Linked DNA regions of Homo sapiens: all the other regions are linked to region 1. The links are contacts of gene promoters, found by promoter capture Hi-C in human tissues and cell types (Jung and others, 2019). All regions are on one chromosome and are shown on one strand. The core of a region is centred on a gene start or on the middle of the fragment in contact, and the rest is flanking DNA. Distances in the headings are between cores, read along the strand shown. Region 1 holds the start of ZNF649 (zinc finger protein 649). Region 2 overlaps ZNF525 (zinc finger protein 525). Region 3 has its middle 19 kb from the start of ZNF845. Region 4 overlaps ZNF816-ZNF321P (ZNF816-ZNF321P readthrough). Region 5 overlaps ZNF888 (zinc finger protein 888).

The links. Contacts are between HindIII fragments. The study calls those that stand out against the background at their distance.
Region 2: a fragment that was not itself captured here is called in contact with the fragment with the promoter of ZNF649 in region 1 in 1 of the 25 tissues and cell types used here (dorsolateral prefrontal cortex).
Region 3: a fragment that was not itself captured here is called in contact with the fragment with the promoter of ZNF649 in region 1 in 1 of the 25 tissues and cell types used here (stomach).
Region 4: a fragment that was not itself captured here is called in contact with the fragment with the promoter of ZNF649 in region 1 in 1 of the 25 tissues and cell types used here (adrenal gland).
Region 5: a contact is called between a fragment that was not itself captured here and the fragment with the promoter of ZNF649 in region 1, in 1 of the 25 tissues and cell types used here (aorta).

The regions. Positions count from the first base shown.
Region 1 is chr19:51,903,667-51,906,558 of GRCh38, forward strand. ZNF649 (zinc finger protein 649) reads right to left here and starts at 1,351. Exons shown (of 5, transcript NM_023074.4): 1 at 1,248-1,351. RefSeq lists enhancers at 1-29, 1,120-1,664, 1,383-1,502, 1,993-2,617. The HindIII fragment of the contact is 10,496 bases long and covers 1-2,892 here.
Region 2 is chr19:53,379,344-53,382,235 of GRCh38, forward strand. ZNF525 (zinc finger protein 525) reads left to right here. Exons shown (of 4, transcript NM_001348156.2): 4 at 1,379-2,892. The coding sequence ends at 2,676. Among named protein-coding and RNA genes, the nearest start is that of ZNF765, 14 kb to the right of the region's middle. The HindIII fragment of the contact is 5,110 bases long and covers 1-2,892 here.
Region 3 is chr19:53,313,577-53,316,468 of GRCh38, forward strand. It overlaps the pseudogene VN1R6P. Among named protein-coding and RNA genes, the nearest start is that of ZNF845, 19 kb to the right of the region's middle. The HindIII fragment of the contact is 6,434 bases long and covers 1-2,892 here.
Region 4 is chr19:52,955,757-52,958,648 of GRCh38, forward strand. ZNF816-ZNF321P (ZNF816-ZNF321P readthrough) reads right to left here. Exons shown (of 4, transcript NM_001202473.2): 2 at 271-348. The coding sequence starts at 333. It overlaps ZNF816 (zinc finger protein 816), which reads right to left. Exons shown (of 4, transcript NM_001202457.3): 2 at 271-348. The coding sequence starts at 333. Among named protein-coding and RNA genes, the nearest start is that of ZNF816, 5.7 kb to the right of the region's middle. The HindIII fragment of the contact is 5,247 bases long and covers 1-2,892 here.
Region 5 is chr19:52,908,483-52,911,374 of GRCh38, forward strand. All of the region lies in intron 4 of ZNF888 (zinc finger protein 888), which reads right to left. Among named protein-coding and RNA genes, the nearest start is that of ZNF320, 12 kb to the left of the region's middle. The HindIII fragment of the contact is 5,859 bases long and covers 1-2,892 here.

The DNA of each region.
Region 1 (2,892 bases), core at 101-2,600:
AAATTAGCCGGGCGTGGTGGCGGGCGCCTGTAATCCCAGCCACTCGGGAGGCTGAGGCAGGACAGTCGCTAGAACCCAGGAGGCGGAGGTTGCAGTGAGCTGAGATCGCACCACTGCACTCCAGACTGGACAACAGAGCTAGATTCCGTCTGGGGGATAGGAGGAAACTTTGATCCCCAAATGCTCAAGGAGACTGATGCTTAAGCAAACTAAATATTGCCTGAGAACGACTCCATACTTCTATATTTGAGTCCTTGTGGATAAACTGCAACCTAGCTTAACAGACAAAATTGAAAACCGAACTTAATCGTATGCACCTGTAACAATAGCTGAGTGGTGGCCAGTCCCAGCGGCCATACTCATAGACTGCTGAATGTTCCAACTGCGTTCAAATAAGGCAAACGCCGAATGGTAACCAATCTCACTGTTTCTGGACCTCGCTTCCGATTCCTGTATGTCACTTTACCTTTTTTGTCTATAAATTTGTTCTGACCACGAGGCACCCCTGGAGTCTCTGTTAATCTGCTGTGATTCTGGGGGCTGCCCAATTCGCGAATCGTTCATTGCTCAAGGAAACTCCTGTAAATTTAATTCGGCTTCAATTTTTCTTTTATCACTGATTTGAGTAATAATAAAACTCCGGTCTCCCCGCACAGCCGGCTCTGCATGAATTGCTCTTTCTCCATTGCAATTTCCCTGTCTTAACAAGTCGGCTCTGTCTAGGCAGCCGGCAAGGGTGGGCGGTTATAGTTTCACAACTCAACCCCAGCCAGGGGCCTGGGCTTGTAAAATACCAGATTTTACAAGCCTCTGAGCCCCACATGCCTGGGCCTCCCCGAAACACTTAACACACATCCCCGATTCACCCCAAAACCTACACCACACACCCTCGTACGCTGCCCAGCACCCCGGCTTCATCACCGACTTTAAACTGCAGCATTTGGAGTGATAATAATGGCGTCGGTGATAAAGCCGGCGTGCTGGGCAGCGTCCCCCTAGAGTTCTCCATCCAGTGATCCAGAGGCCTACTAACAGAGTGACCCTCAGAGACCCCAAACTCTGACGCCGAGTCTCAGTCGCTGAACTCGACAGACCTTTAACGCCCGACCACAAGAACTCTCCCACGCCGGACCGCAAAGGCACCCCAACCCAAAGGCTCCACCGCCCAGGCCGCCAGCTCTCCCCACAGGCTCCTCAGAAGCTCCCTACCCCTTTAACCTACTCCACGGAGAGACCCAAACACTCACCTGATTTTCTTCTGGCTACACCTAAATTCCCTGAATGCTTCCTTTCCTGGCCCTTAAACCCCGGCACTGGCCTATGGCGGCGGACGAGGGCGCGAGTCAATTCTGCCGCGCTAGGACGATGGGACATGGGCTTCTCTTCGAGGAGGTAACATGTCCGCGCCCTGAGCCACGGCTCTCTGGGCGCGGCCATCTTGGTAGATCTGCCGTACAGAAGGGAAACAGTTGTTCTTGTGTCATTAAACCGGGATGACTCTCCTGAAAGCAAAAATTTGAGGCGCAGGAGCATTTTCTAGAGTTTATCTGAACAAACAGCAATTCATGAATTAGGAAGCATCAAACCAAAAGAAGTCTCGCGCTTCTATGCTTAAAGCATTAGACACAAGTATTCACAGGGTGAGTGAAGGAGTAAAACAAAGAAATTATTTGATTAGTTACAATTATAAAAATGCATTTTTTTAAATTTGCCTTGGAAAGTCCCTAATGACATAATAGCATGTGAGTTGCCTACTTTTGATCGGTTGAGATTGAGTTTTGTCCTTCCCTAACACAAGCATTTACCAGAAATGACTCAAGTGAATTGTTGCTTATGTTTGCAGGTTAAGCAAGGTTAAGGCTGTTTTTAAGGCCTACTGGGTTTTGTTTGCTCAGGAGTTTTTGAATTCTGGTCTGCATTTTAATTTTGCTTTGACACAGGAGACAGTGAAATGGCACTGATGTGTTCCCTCTCCTGACACCTCAACCCCTGCACTGTGAGGTTGGAGCACTAACAACAGTGCACTGTGGGGAAAAGAAAGAGAGATCAGACTGTTACTGTGTCTATGTAGAAAGAAGTAGACATAAGAGACTCCATTTTGTTCCGTACTAAGAAAAATTCTTCTGCCTTGAGATGCTGTTAATCTGTAACCCTACCCCCAACCCTGTTCTCACAGAGACGTGTGCTGTGTTGACTCAAGGTTTAATGGATTTAGGGCTATGCAGGATGTGCTTTGTTAAACAAATGCTTGAAGGCAGTATGCTTGTTAAAAGTCATCACCACTCTCTAATCTCAAGTACCCAGGGACACAATACACTGCGGAAGGCCACAGGGACCTCTGCCCCAGAAAGCCAGGTATTATCCAAGGTTTCTCCCCATGTGATAGTCTGAAATATGGCCTCGTGGGAAGGGAAAGACCTGACCATCCCTCAGCCCGACACCCGTAAAGGGTCTGTGCTGAGGAGGATTAGTATAAGAGGAAGGAAGGCCTCTTGCAGTTGAGACAAGAGGAAGGCATCTGTCTCCTGCTCGTCCCTGGGCAATGGAATGTCTCGGTATAAAACCCGATTGTATGTTCCATCTACTGAGATAGGAGAAAATCGCCTTAGGGCTGGAGGTGAGACAAGCTGGCGGCAATACTGCTCTTTAATGCACCGAGACGTTTATGTATGTGCATATCAAAGCACAGCACCTTCTTCTTAAGCTTGTTTATGACACAGAGACATTTGTTCACATGTTTTCCTGCTGACACTCTCCCCACTATTATCCTATTGTCCTGCCACATCCCCCTCTCCGAGATGGTAGAGATAATGATCAATAAATACTGAGGGACTCAGAGACCGGTGCCGGCGCGGGTCCTCTGTATGCTGAGCACCGGTCCCCTGGACCCAC
Region 2 (2,892 bases), core at 291-2,790, 1.5 Mb after region 1:
CTGACCTCATGGTCTTCCCACCTCGGCCTCCCAAAGTGCTGGAATTACAGGCATGAGCCACTGCACCCGGCTGTTAGTGAATTCTTATTCATTATAATGCTGCATATTTTTTTGACCTCATACATCAGAAGGTAGTGATCTTAACATGTATTTCAGTTCTTATATTGTGTGCTGGTGGTAAGTAGAAGTTGTGCTTTTTTCTTAACAGGGAATTGTTTAGAATTCTGCAGTTTGTATAAATGTACTTATGATTTGCTTGCTGGTTTTATGCGTTACAGTTATTTTACCAATTCATTTTTATGATTTTACATAAAGCTTTTCGGTATGTGGTATGCAATATAACTGACACAGTTTACTAGTTAATGTCACAAAGTGCCAGCGGGTGCTGTGGCTCACGCCTGCAATCCCAGGACTTTGGGAGGCTGAGGCGGGTGGATCACTTGAGGTCAAAAGTTCAAGGCCAGCCTGGCCAATATGATGTAACCCTATCTCTACTAAAAATACAAAAATTAGCCAAGCATGCTGGCATGTGCCTGTAATCCCATGTACTCAGGAGGCTGAGGCAGGAGAATGGCTTGAACCCAAAAGGTGGAGGTTGCAGTGAGCTGAGATCAGGCCATTGCCCTCCAGCCTGTTGTGACACAGTGAAACATTGTCTCAAAAATACAAAAATAAAAAAAAAATTTTAAATGTTACAATATGCCTTTTCTGCATGGATATAGGTAATTTTATGACAGTTATTCAGAAAAATATTTTTTTTTTTTTGAGATGGAGTCTCACTTTGTCATCCAGGCTGAAGTACAGTGGTGCGATCTCGGCTCACTGCAACCTCTGCCTCTTGGGTTCAAGCAATTCTTGTACCTCACCCTTGCGAGTAGCTGGGAGTACAGACGTGCACCACCATGCCTTGCTAAATTTTGTAAACTTTTCTTATCTTCTCAGTGCTATGATTATTTAACAATACAGAATTTCCATTGATTTTGGTTATCCTTACATGAGCTTGCTGTGGATTATTTACCAGTATATTATATTGTGTGGTCCTTTAGTATTTATTTGTATACAGTAAGTATGCTGTAAATATGAAGAATATATACTTTTCATTGATGTGACAGTGATATGTCTTTTGCAAACTGTTAGACACTTTAGGGTCACAGTGGAAAAATACTCCTTATTTTAGGCTTACACATGTTTGTGCCCTTCAGTGTTTTGTCATGATATTGGAAATAAGCTTTCATAATAATAATTTGAAGCACATGTAATCGCCCTTTATTTATTAAAGAATCTTACGATTTTGTGTTCCTAAACTTTGAAGATCATGTTTGGGAAGTTTAAAATCAGTATTGTCTTTTGTGTACCTATTAGTGTTTATATTTTGTAGGTATCTCTTCCAAATGCACAATGAAGGAGTTCTCATCAACAGCACAAGGCAATACAGAAGTGATCCACACAGGGACATTGCAAAGACATGAACGTCATCACATTGGAGATTTTTCCTTCCAGGAAATTGAGAAAGATATTCATAACTTTGAGTTTCAGTGGCAAGAAGATGAAAGAAATGGCCATGAAGCACCCATGACAAAAATCAAAAAATTGATGGGTAGTACAGAGCAATATGATCACAGGCATGCTGGAAACAAGCCTATTAAATATCAGCTTGGATCAAGCTTTCATTCACATCTGTCTGAACTCCACATATTTCAGCCCAAAGGGAAAATTAATAATCAAGTGGAGAAGTCTATCAACGATGCTTCCTCGGTTTCAACAGCCCAAAGAATTTCTTGTAGGCCCAAAACCCATATATCTAATAACTATGGGGATAATTTTCTGAATTATTCATTACTCACACAAAGACAGGAAGTACGCATGAGAGAAAAATCTTTCCAATGTATTGAGAGTGGCAAAGCCTTTAATTATAGCTCACTCTTAAGGAAACATCAGATTATTCATCTAGGAGAGAAACAATATAAATGTGATGTATGTGACAAGGTCTTTATTCGGAAGCGATACCTTGCACGCCATCGTAGATGTCACACTGGTGAGAAACCTTACAAGTGTAATGAGTGTGGCAAGTCCTTCAGTCAGATGTCATCCCTTACATATCATCATCGACTTCATACTGGAGAGAAACCTTACAAATGTGAAGAATGTGACAAAGCTTTCAGACACAATTCAGCCCTTCAAAGACATAGGAGAATTCATACTGGAGAGAAACCACATAAGTGTAATGAGTGTGGCAAGACCTTTAGTCAGAAGTCATACCTTGCATGCCATCGTAGCATTCATACTGGAAAGAAACCTTACGAATGTGAAGAATGTGACAAAGCTTTCAGTTTCAAATCAAACCTTGAAAGTCATAGGATAACTCATACTGGAGAGAAACCATACAAGTGTAATGATTGTGGCAAGACCTTCAGTCATATGTCAACCCTTACATGCCATCGTAGACTTCATACTGGAGAGAAACCTTACAAGTGTGAAGAATGTGATGAAGCTTTCCGTTTCAAATCAAGTCTTGAAAGACATAGGAGAATTCATAATGGAGAGAAACTGTACAAATGTAATGAGTGTGGCAAGACCTTCAGTCAGGAGTTATCCCTTACCTGCCATTGTAGACTTCATAGTGGAGAGAAACCTTGCAAGTGTGGAGAATGTGACAAGGCTTACAGTTTCAAATAAAATCTTGAAATACGTCAGAAAATTCATACTGGAGAGAAATGTTATAAGTGTAATGATTGTGGCAAGATCTTCAGTCATACGTCATCCATTGTATACCATCATAAATTTCATAGTGGAGAGAAACCTTACAAATGTGAAGAATGTGATGAAGCTTTCAGTTTCAAATCAAACCTTGAAAGACATAGGAGAATTCACACTGGTGAGAAACCTTACAGG
Region 3 (2,892 bases), core at 195-2,694, 1.4 Mb after region 1:
TTAGGAGAATCCACACTGACCCGCATTGTTGGTGTTTCACCCAATCATAGTGAAACTTGACTACGTTCTTAAGGATTAACATTCTTAAATCAATCTGTCGTAATAATGAAAGCTGGTTGCATTCTTAAGGACTGTGGTACTAAAATCAATCTGCTGTTCCGCCTACCCAACAGGAATCATAGACTAAAATTTCAGGATTGCTGAGGACGTGACTATAATATCACCATGCTTGTAATGAGTAGACTGACTCTACAGGAGTCATGTAATTCCTTACACAAACAGTGTATCTAAATGGTAGTTGCTGGAACGAAAATGTTTTCTCTAATTCTGAGAGTGTGCAGGGCTTAATGGGAGCATTAATTGTGTCTCCACTGAAAACCACCATAGTCTGTTGATTATGGTGAGACTGTCTTTCCTCTTGATGTTAAGGAGGCAGAATTTAAGGAAAAGGTAACTTTATAATAACGAGCTAAAGAGAGCAGCTGTCAGACTCAAATGTGTCCTCTAATGTGTTCTCTGCTTCAAATAGATTCTAACATCACCCAAACTCTCTAATTTCTGTTTATCAACTATATAACACACATCCATTAGAGTTTCCAATTTTCATGTTTGTCACACTTTAATTTAATTATGCAAATATTGTCCTAAGGATAATAATTTCTTTAACTCAGTTACTAATGGCTCTAGATATGTCATCTAAGATTTGTAAGAATTTGGTTATTACCGTACACTATTTTATCCCATATTGGTGTTTCATGTCCTATTGTTTTGGGTAAGACATGATTGTGGTAGGTGCCTTTATGCCTTTGTCCTTGGCACAAAAGCAAATGCTCACAATGTTTTTTACTCTCTTTCCATTCTAATATTGATCCGTGCTTGCAGTCATTAAATCCAATTTGTTATGGCACAGGTTTCTATAGTGTTAAACTGTAATTCATTCATCTACATTTTTTAAGATCTCTAAACCTTTATTTATTCAGATATTGACAAATAGAATAAATTTTTGCACATGATATAAAATCATTACAATATACAGTAACCTACTACAAGACTAAAATATAATGACAAGGAATAAAAACAAAGGTCTCTGTATGTGTGTGTCTTATTCAAAGAACACAGCTATCTAGCTTTGTTAGTAAACTATAATGGCTAAATGCACTCTCTGTGCAAAAAAACAAGGCAGGTTCAAGTTCGTGCTTGCCTGTAAGTAGGGTGGAAATGTCACTAGCCACTTCACCTCTCTGTGTCTATGTCCTTCTCATATTTACAATGAAAGTAATAGTAATGCCTGCCTCATAGGTTTGTGAAAAAAGAAGTTGCCGCACGTATGATCTGCACAGCAGTGATTCCCACATGGGAAGTGCTCTTTAAAGGTTACGCATTCAACTCTCAAAAGCCTCTTAAGAGAAGAGTGACTTTAAGTATTTCTAAGGGCAGAGCAATGGGAGGTGGAGAATGCTGGGTTGCAGGTGACACTATAAACGTAGCTCATGCCTCCTATTTCCATGCAGGACCTCCCAGCCCTGAAGACAAACATCAGTGACAGACATCAGTGGCAGAATGGCCTCCCGGTATGTGGCAGTGGGAATGATCTTCTTATCACAGACCGTGGTGGGAGTCCTGGGGAGCTTCTCTCTTCTTCTCCATTATCTCTCCCTTTACTGCACTGGGTACAGGTTAAGGTCCACAGATTTGATTGTTAAGCACCTGATTGTAGCCAACTTCTTAGCTCTCCGCTGTAAAGGAGTCCCCCAGACAATGGCAGCTTTTGGGGTTAGATATTTTCTTAATGCTCTTGGGTGCAAACTTGTTTTCTATCTCCATAGAGTGGGCAGGGGAGTGTCCATTGGCACCACCTGCCTCTTGAGTGTCTTCCAGGTGATCACGGTCAGCTCCAGGAAATCCAGGTGGGAAAACTTAAAGAGAAAGCCCCCAAGCATGTTGGCTTTTCTGTTCTCCTGTGCTGGATCGTGTGCATGTTGGTAAACATCATCTTTCCCATGTATGTGACTGGCAAATGGAACTACACAAACATCACAGTGAACGAGGATTTGGGATACTGTTCTGGGGGAGGCAACAACAAAATCGCACAGACACTGCGTGCAATGTTGTTATCATTCCCTGATGTGTTGTGTCTGGGGCTCATGCTCTGGGTCAGCAGCTCCATGGTTTGCATCCTGCACAGGCACAAGCAGCGGGTCCAGCACATTGATAGGAGCGATCTCTCCCCCAGAGCCTCCCCAGAGAACAGAGCTACGCAGAGCATCCTCATCCTGGTGAGCACCTTTGTGTCTTCTTACACTCTCTCCTGCCTTTTCCAAGTTTGATGGCTCTTTTGGATAATCCCAATAGTTTACTGGTGAACACTTCAGCCTTAATGAGTGTATGTTTCCCAACTCTCAGTCCCTTTGTTCTCATGAGCTGTGACCCCAGTGTATACAGGCTTTGCTTTGCTTGGAAAAGATGACAAGATCCCCTAAACTGATCATAAACATGTGAAAACATGTAAGTTGTATATATTTGCTCATTGTTTAATTGATGATTCCCTCTTCCCTGCAGTAATGTACACATGATTATGAACCTGTCACAATCATGAGAAGGTGATGAACAAGACAGGGTGAACTTCCATCCCAATGGTAAACAATATCTAGTAAGAACAATTATAAATGAAACGATGAAATTATTATGTAAATACTCATATTATTAAAGCTTTATTAATACCTGCAGTAGAGTCATTAGAGGTCCATGCAATTTAAATTAGGTCATGAATCATGATGAAATTATTATGTAAATACTCATTATTACAGTTTTATTAATGTCTGCAGTGGAGTCGTTAGACATCTATGCAATTAAAAAAAATTAGGTCCTGAATCAAACTGGAAATTATGGGGA
Region 4 (2,892 bases), core at 123-2,622, 1.1 Mb after region 1:
GACACCATGGGGCCCACACCCCATCTCCATCCATGTCTGGTGTGAGCCCTTCCCAGGACCATGCCCAGTGGAGCCTCTTCCCAAGCTCATGTCACTAGGTTATAGGAGATGGAATTTAAGTGAAGATGAGAGGGACTGAGAAAAGACACGGGTGAGTGCGAGCAAACGTGTGATGTAGAATGCTTCACACTCAGAGAAGATTGGCTACTACAATACCTGGCACTTCAGAAAGGAAAGAGACAGAAGAATCCACCAAGGAATATCACTTACCTGAGGAAGAGCCATCCCTGGCTCCTTTTCTTTGCTCTTCTTGGTGGCTTCCTCACGTAACATGAGTCTTTGGAAATCCTGTATGTTAAAAAAGCAAGAGATTTAATATTTAGAAACCATTGACTCCTTTCCTGTGACAAAACACACACACAGGGGAAACCTCACCCGAGAGAAAGATGGTCCTTTGCTACCCACTGCACCAGAGACCATGCAGAGATAAGAAAGTTCCACAGGAAGACCTACAAATGTAATTTTGACCCGTTTTCAGATCTTGCTCCCCTCCTGGAAAAGTCCACACACACGCTGCAGCAGGACACAGATCTTCAGGGCACAGATCTAGCCCTAACCAAACTCCATGCAGAGCACAGCCCCCTCACCTCCCTGTGGATCACAGACTGATCTCAGCTCTCAACATGGAGGAAACTTCCTTGATGTTTAATGCTGGACACAGATAAGAATCACCAGTGCCATTGTAAGTATTATTGAGTGTGGGTCCCATCCTATTATAATAGCAATCTGATAAAACAGCATGCCTGTAATCCCAGCATTTTGGGAGGCCGATGCAGCTGGATCCCTTCAGCTCTGGGGTTGGACACCAGCCTGAGCAACATGGCGAAAGCCCATCTCTACGAAGAACACAAAAATTAGTGTGGTGTGGTGGCACGCAGCTGTGGTCCCAGCTACTCTGGAGGCTGAGGTAGGAAGCAGACCACCACTTCTCCTGCTGCCTTCCTCCCTCCCCCTTGCCTAGTTTATAAGACAGGAGGAAAGGAAGAAAGCAAAAAGTTAGAAAGAAACAGAAGTAAGATAAATAGCCAGACGACCTTGGTGCTACCACCTGGCCCCGGTGGTTAAAAATAATAATAATACCAACCCCTGACCTAAACTACTTATGTTATCTGTAAATTCTAGACATTGTATGAAGAAGCATTGCAAAAGTTTCTGTTCTGTTAGCTGATGCACGTAGTGTCAAGTCACATTCCCCACACTTGCTTGATCTATCATGACCCTTTCACGTGGATGCCTTAGAGCTGTAAGCCCTTAAAAGGGCCAGGAATTTCTTTTTCAGGGAGCTCAGTTCTTGAGACACGAGTCCTCTGATGCGCTGGGCCGAATAAAGCCACTTCCTTCTTTAATCCGTTGTCTGAGAGGTACTGTCTGCGGCTCGTCATGCTACATTTCTTGGTTCCCTGACTTGGAAGCGAGGTAATTAACAGAAGGTCGAGGCAACCCCTTAGGTGACTTAGGCCTGCCCTTTGGAGCATCCCTGCTGGGTACTCCAGCCAGCTTGGGCGACATGGATTCTGAGAGTGCTACCAGGTAGGCATGTGCCCCAGAAAGATACTTAGCCTGGCCATCCGAACTTGCAGTGTAACCAGTGTGCTTACTGTAAAGAAATAGGATATTAGAAGGACAAGTGCCCTCAGCTAAAAGGAAAACAAGGTGGCTCAGAGCAGGAGGCCCCAGAAGGAGCCCTGTTCAATATAGCAGAAGAGTTACTGAACTGAGGAGGACCAGGCTCAACTGCCCCCAAGGAGCCCATGGTCAAGATGACAGTTAGGGGCAAAGACATTGATTTTCGTATTGATACCAGTGCTGAACATTCAGTAGTAACCGCCCCGGTTGCCCCCCTTTCCAAAAAGACTATTGTTATAATCGGAGCCATGGGAGTTTTATCAAAGCAAGCTTTCTGTTGCCCCAGACTTGTACTGTAGGAAGACATAAAGTGATTCACCAGTTCTTGTACATGCCTGACTTGAAAGGACTTGAAAGGACTTGCTTAGCGAGCTGAGAGCCACCGTCTCTTCTACAGAGCACAGCTCTTTACAGCTAAGGTTACCCAGAACGGGAGTCATTATGGCCCTTACAGTCCCCCAGGAAGAGGAATGGAGACTTCTTTTAACTGAGCCAGGCCAAGAGATAAGACCAACTCTGGCTAAGCGGTGGCCAAGGGTGTAGACAGAAGACAACCCTCCAGGGATGGCAGTTAACCAAGCCCTGGTACTTATAGAAGTTAAGCGTAGGGCCCAGCCAGTCAGGCAAAAACAGTACCTGGTCCCCAGAGAAGATCTTGAAAGTATCCAGGTCCATCTCAAGAGCCTGAGAGCCTTTAGAATTACAGTCCCTTGTCAGTCTCCCTGGAACACTCCCCTCCTGCCTGTTCCCACGCCAGGGACCAATGACTACAGGCCGGTACAGGACTTGCACTTAGTCAATCAAGCTACAGTGACTTTACATCCAACAGTACCTAACCCGTACACGTTAAGGTTGCTGCCAGCTGAGGACAGCTGGTTCTCTGGCTTAGACCTGAAAGACACTTTCTTTAGCATTAGACTAGCCCCTCAGAGCCAGAAGCTGTTTGCCTTTCAGTAGGAAGATCTGGGATCAGGTGTCACTGCTCAGTACTCTTGGACCCGGCTTCTGCAAGGGTTCAAGAACTCCCCCACCATCTTCAGGGAAGCACTGGCTCGGGACCTCCAGAAGTTTCCCACCAGAGACCTAGGCTGCGCATTGCTCCAGTACGTTGATGACCTTCTGTTAGGACACCCCATGGCAGTTGAGTGTGCCAAGGGAAAGGATGCCCTACTCTGGCCCTTGGAGGACTATAGGTATAAGTTGTCC
Region 5 (2,892 bases), core at 128-2,627, 1.0 Mb after region 1:
AAAAATTTATCACTGTAACAACAAAAAGAAGAAAATATATATTCTTCATATTTACAGCATATTTACTGTATAGAAATAAATGCTAAAGGACCGGACAATGTACTATATTGGTAAATAATCAACAACAAGCTCTTGTAAGGATAACCAAAATCAATGGAAATCCTGTACTGTCAAACCATCACAGCACAGAGAAGATAATAAAAGATTACAAAAATTAGCCAGGTGTTGTGGCCCGTGCCTGTAATCCCAGGTACTCGGGAGGCTGAGGCACAAGAATCACTTTAAGCCAAGAGGCAAAGGTTGCAGTGAGCCAACATCGCACCACTGCACCACAGCCTGGGTGACAAAGTGAGACTCGAGTCAAAAAAAAAAAAAAAAAAAAGGCAGGGCTTGGTGGCCCACACCAGTAATCCCACTACTTTGGGAGGCCGAGGCAGGTGGATCTCCTCAGATCAGGAGTATGACCAGCCTGGCCATCGTGGCAAAACCCCGTCTCTACTAAAAATACAAAAAGTAGCCGGGCGTGGTCGCGGGAGCCTGTAATCCCAGCTACTTGGGAGGCTGAGGCAGGAGAATTGCTTGAACCCGGGAGGCGAAGATAGTGGTAAACTGAGATCGCACCACTGCACTCCAGCCTGAGCAAAAAAGTGAGACTCCATCTCAAAAAAAAAAGAAAATGTTAATACCATATTTTTCTGAATAACTGTTACAAAATTACCTATATCCATGTGGAACAGGCGCTTTGTAACTTTTTAAAAAAAATTTTTGTATTTTTTTTTTTTTGAGATGGAGTCTCGCTCTGTCACCCAGGCTGGAGTGCAGTGGCACAATCTGGGCTCACTGTAACCTCAACCTCCTGGGTTCAAGCGAGTGTCTTGCCTCAGCCTCTTGAGTACCTGGGATTACAGGCACACACCACCATGCCCAGCTAATTTTTAAATTTTTAGTAGAGATGGGGTTTCACCACGTTGGCAAGGCTCGTCTCGAACTCCTGACCTCAGGTGACCCACATGTCTCAGCCTCCTAAATCCTGGGATTACAGGCATGAGCCACTGCGCCCGGGGGCACTTTTGACATTAATGAGTGGAATCTCTCAGTTATATTGCATACCACGTACCAAAAACTCACATGTAAAATCATAAAATCAATTAATAAAATATATTATTAATTCATTAATCAAATAATAAAATACTGTAACCCATGATAAAACAAGCAAGAAAATAAGTAGATTTATACTGCCTGCAGAATTCTAAACAATTCCCTCTTAAGAAAAAAACCACAACTTGTTCTTACCACCAGTACACAACATAAGAACAGAAATACATGTTAAGATCACTACCTTCTAATATATGAGGTCAAGAAAATACACAGCATTATAAGGAATAAGAATTGACTATGGCCAGGCATGGTGGCTCATGCCTGTAATCCCAGGACTTTGGGAGGCCAAGGCGGGTGGATCACCCAAGGTCAGGAGTTCTAGAACAGCCTGGCCAACATGGTGAAACCCCGTCTCAACTAAAAATACAAAAATTAGCCGGGCGTGTAATCCCCACTACTTGGGGGACCCGAGGCAGGAGAATCACTCGACCCTGGAAAGCGGAGGTTGCAGTGAGCATAGACTGCACCATCGCACTCCAACCTTGGGGACTAGAGCGAGACTTCGTCTCAAAAAAAAAAAAAAAAAAAAAAAAAAAAGAACTGAATAACACCAGGGCGCGGTGGTGCATGCCTGTAATCCCAGCACTTTTGGAGGCTGAGGCAGGTGGATCATGAGGTCATAAGTTCAAGACCAGCCTGGACAACATGGTGAAACCCCATCTCTACTAAAAATACAAAAAAAATTAGCTATGCATGGTGGCGGGTGCCTTTAATCCCAGCTACTTGGGAGGCTGAAGCAGGAATCATTTGAACCTGGGAGGCGGAGGATGCAGTGAGCCGAGACCATGCTACTGCACTCCAGCCTGGGTGAGAGAATGCGACTACATCTCAAAAAAATAAGATAAATAACTACTTCTCAAATAAGCTTTGGTAGATGTGGTATTCTCTAATAGGATGTTGCTGCAGATGCAGACTTGGAGAGAATTTAGCCATGGGTGTTGACTACCTGTGAATACTAAAAGTGCATTTATAAAGAGACATTAAAGAGCTCATTGCCTGTTCCTCTTTCCACCATGTTAGGACATGGCAGGAAGATGGCTGGGCTAAACCATGAAGAAGCCTCTCACCAGGAACTTATTTGGCTGGCACCTTGCTCTTGGATTTCTCCCTTCCCAAATTCATGAAAAATAAATTTCTGTCTCTTAAGCCTCCCAGTGTAAGCTATTTCCTCTTTTGTCTTTGAGATTGAGTCATGCTCTATCACCCAGGCTCAAGTGTAGTGGCATGATTCTCCTACCTCAAGTGATTCTCCCTCCTCAGCCCAGAGTCTCACTCTGTCACCCGGGCTGGAGTGCAGTGGGGTGATCTTAGCTCACTGCAACCTCCACCTCCTGGGTTCAAGTGATTCTCCTGCTTCAACCTCCCAAGTCTGGGATTACAGGTGCACAGCACCATGAACAGCTAATTTTTGTACTTTTAGTAGACACGGGATTTCACCATGTTGGCCAGGCTTGTCTCGAACTCCTGACCTCAAGTGATTGGCCCGTCTCAGCCTCCCAAAGTGCTGGAATTACAGGTGTGAGCAATTGCACCTGGCCCATTTTTGGCATTTAGTATATTTGAGGTTTCACCATGTTGTACAGACTGGTCTCAAACTCCTGACCTCAAGCAATCTGCCCACCTTGGTCTCCGAAAGTGCTGGGATTAGAGGAGTGAGCCACCACAGCCAGCAGTCTAAGCTATTTCTTTTTGTTTTCTTTTCTTTTTTTTTTTTTTGAGACGGAGTCTTGCTCT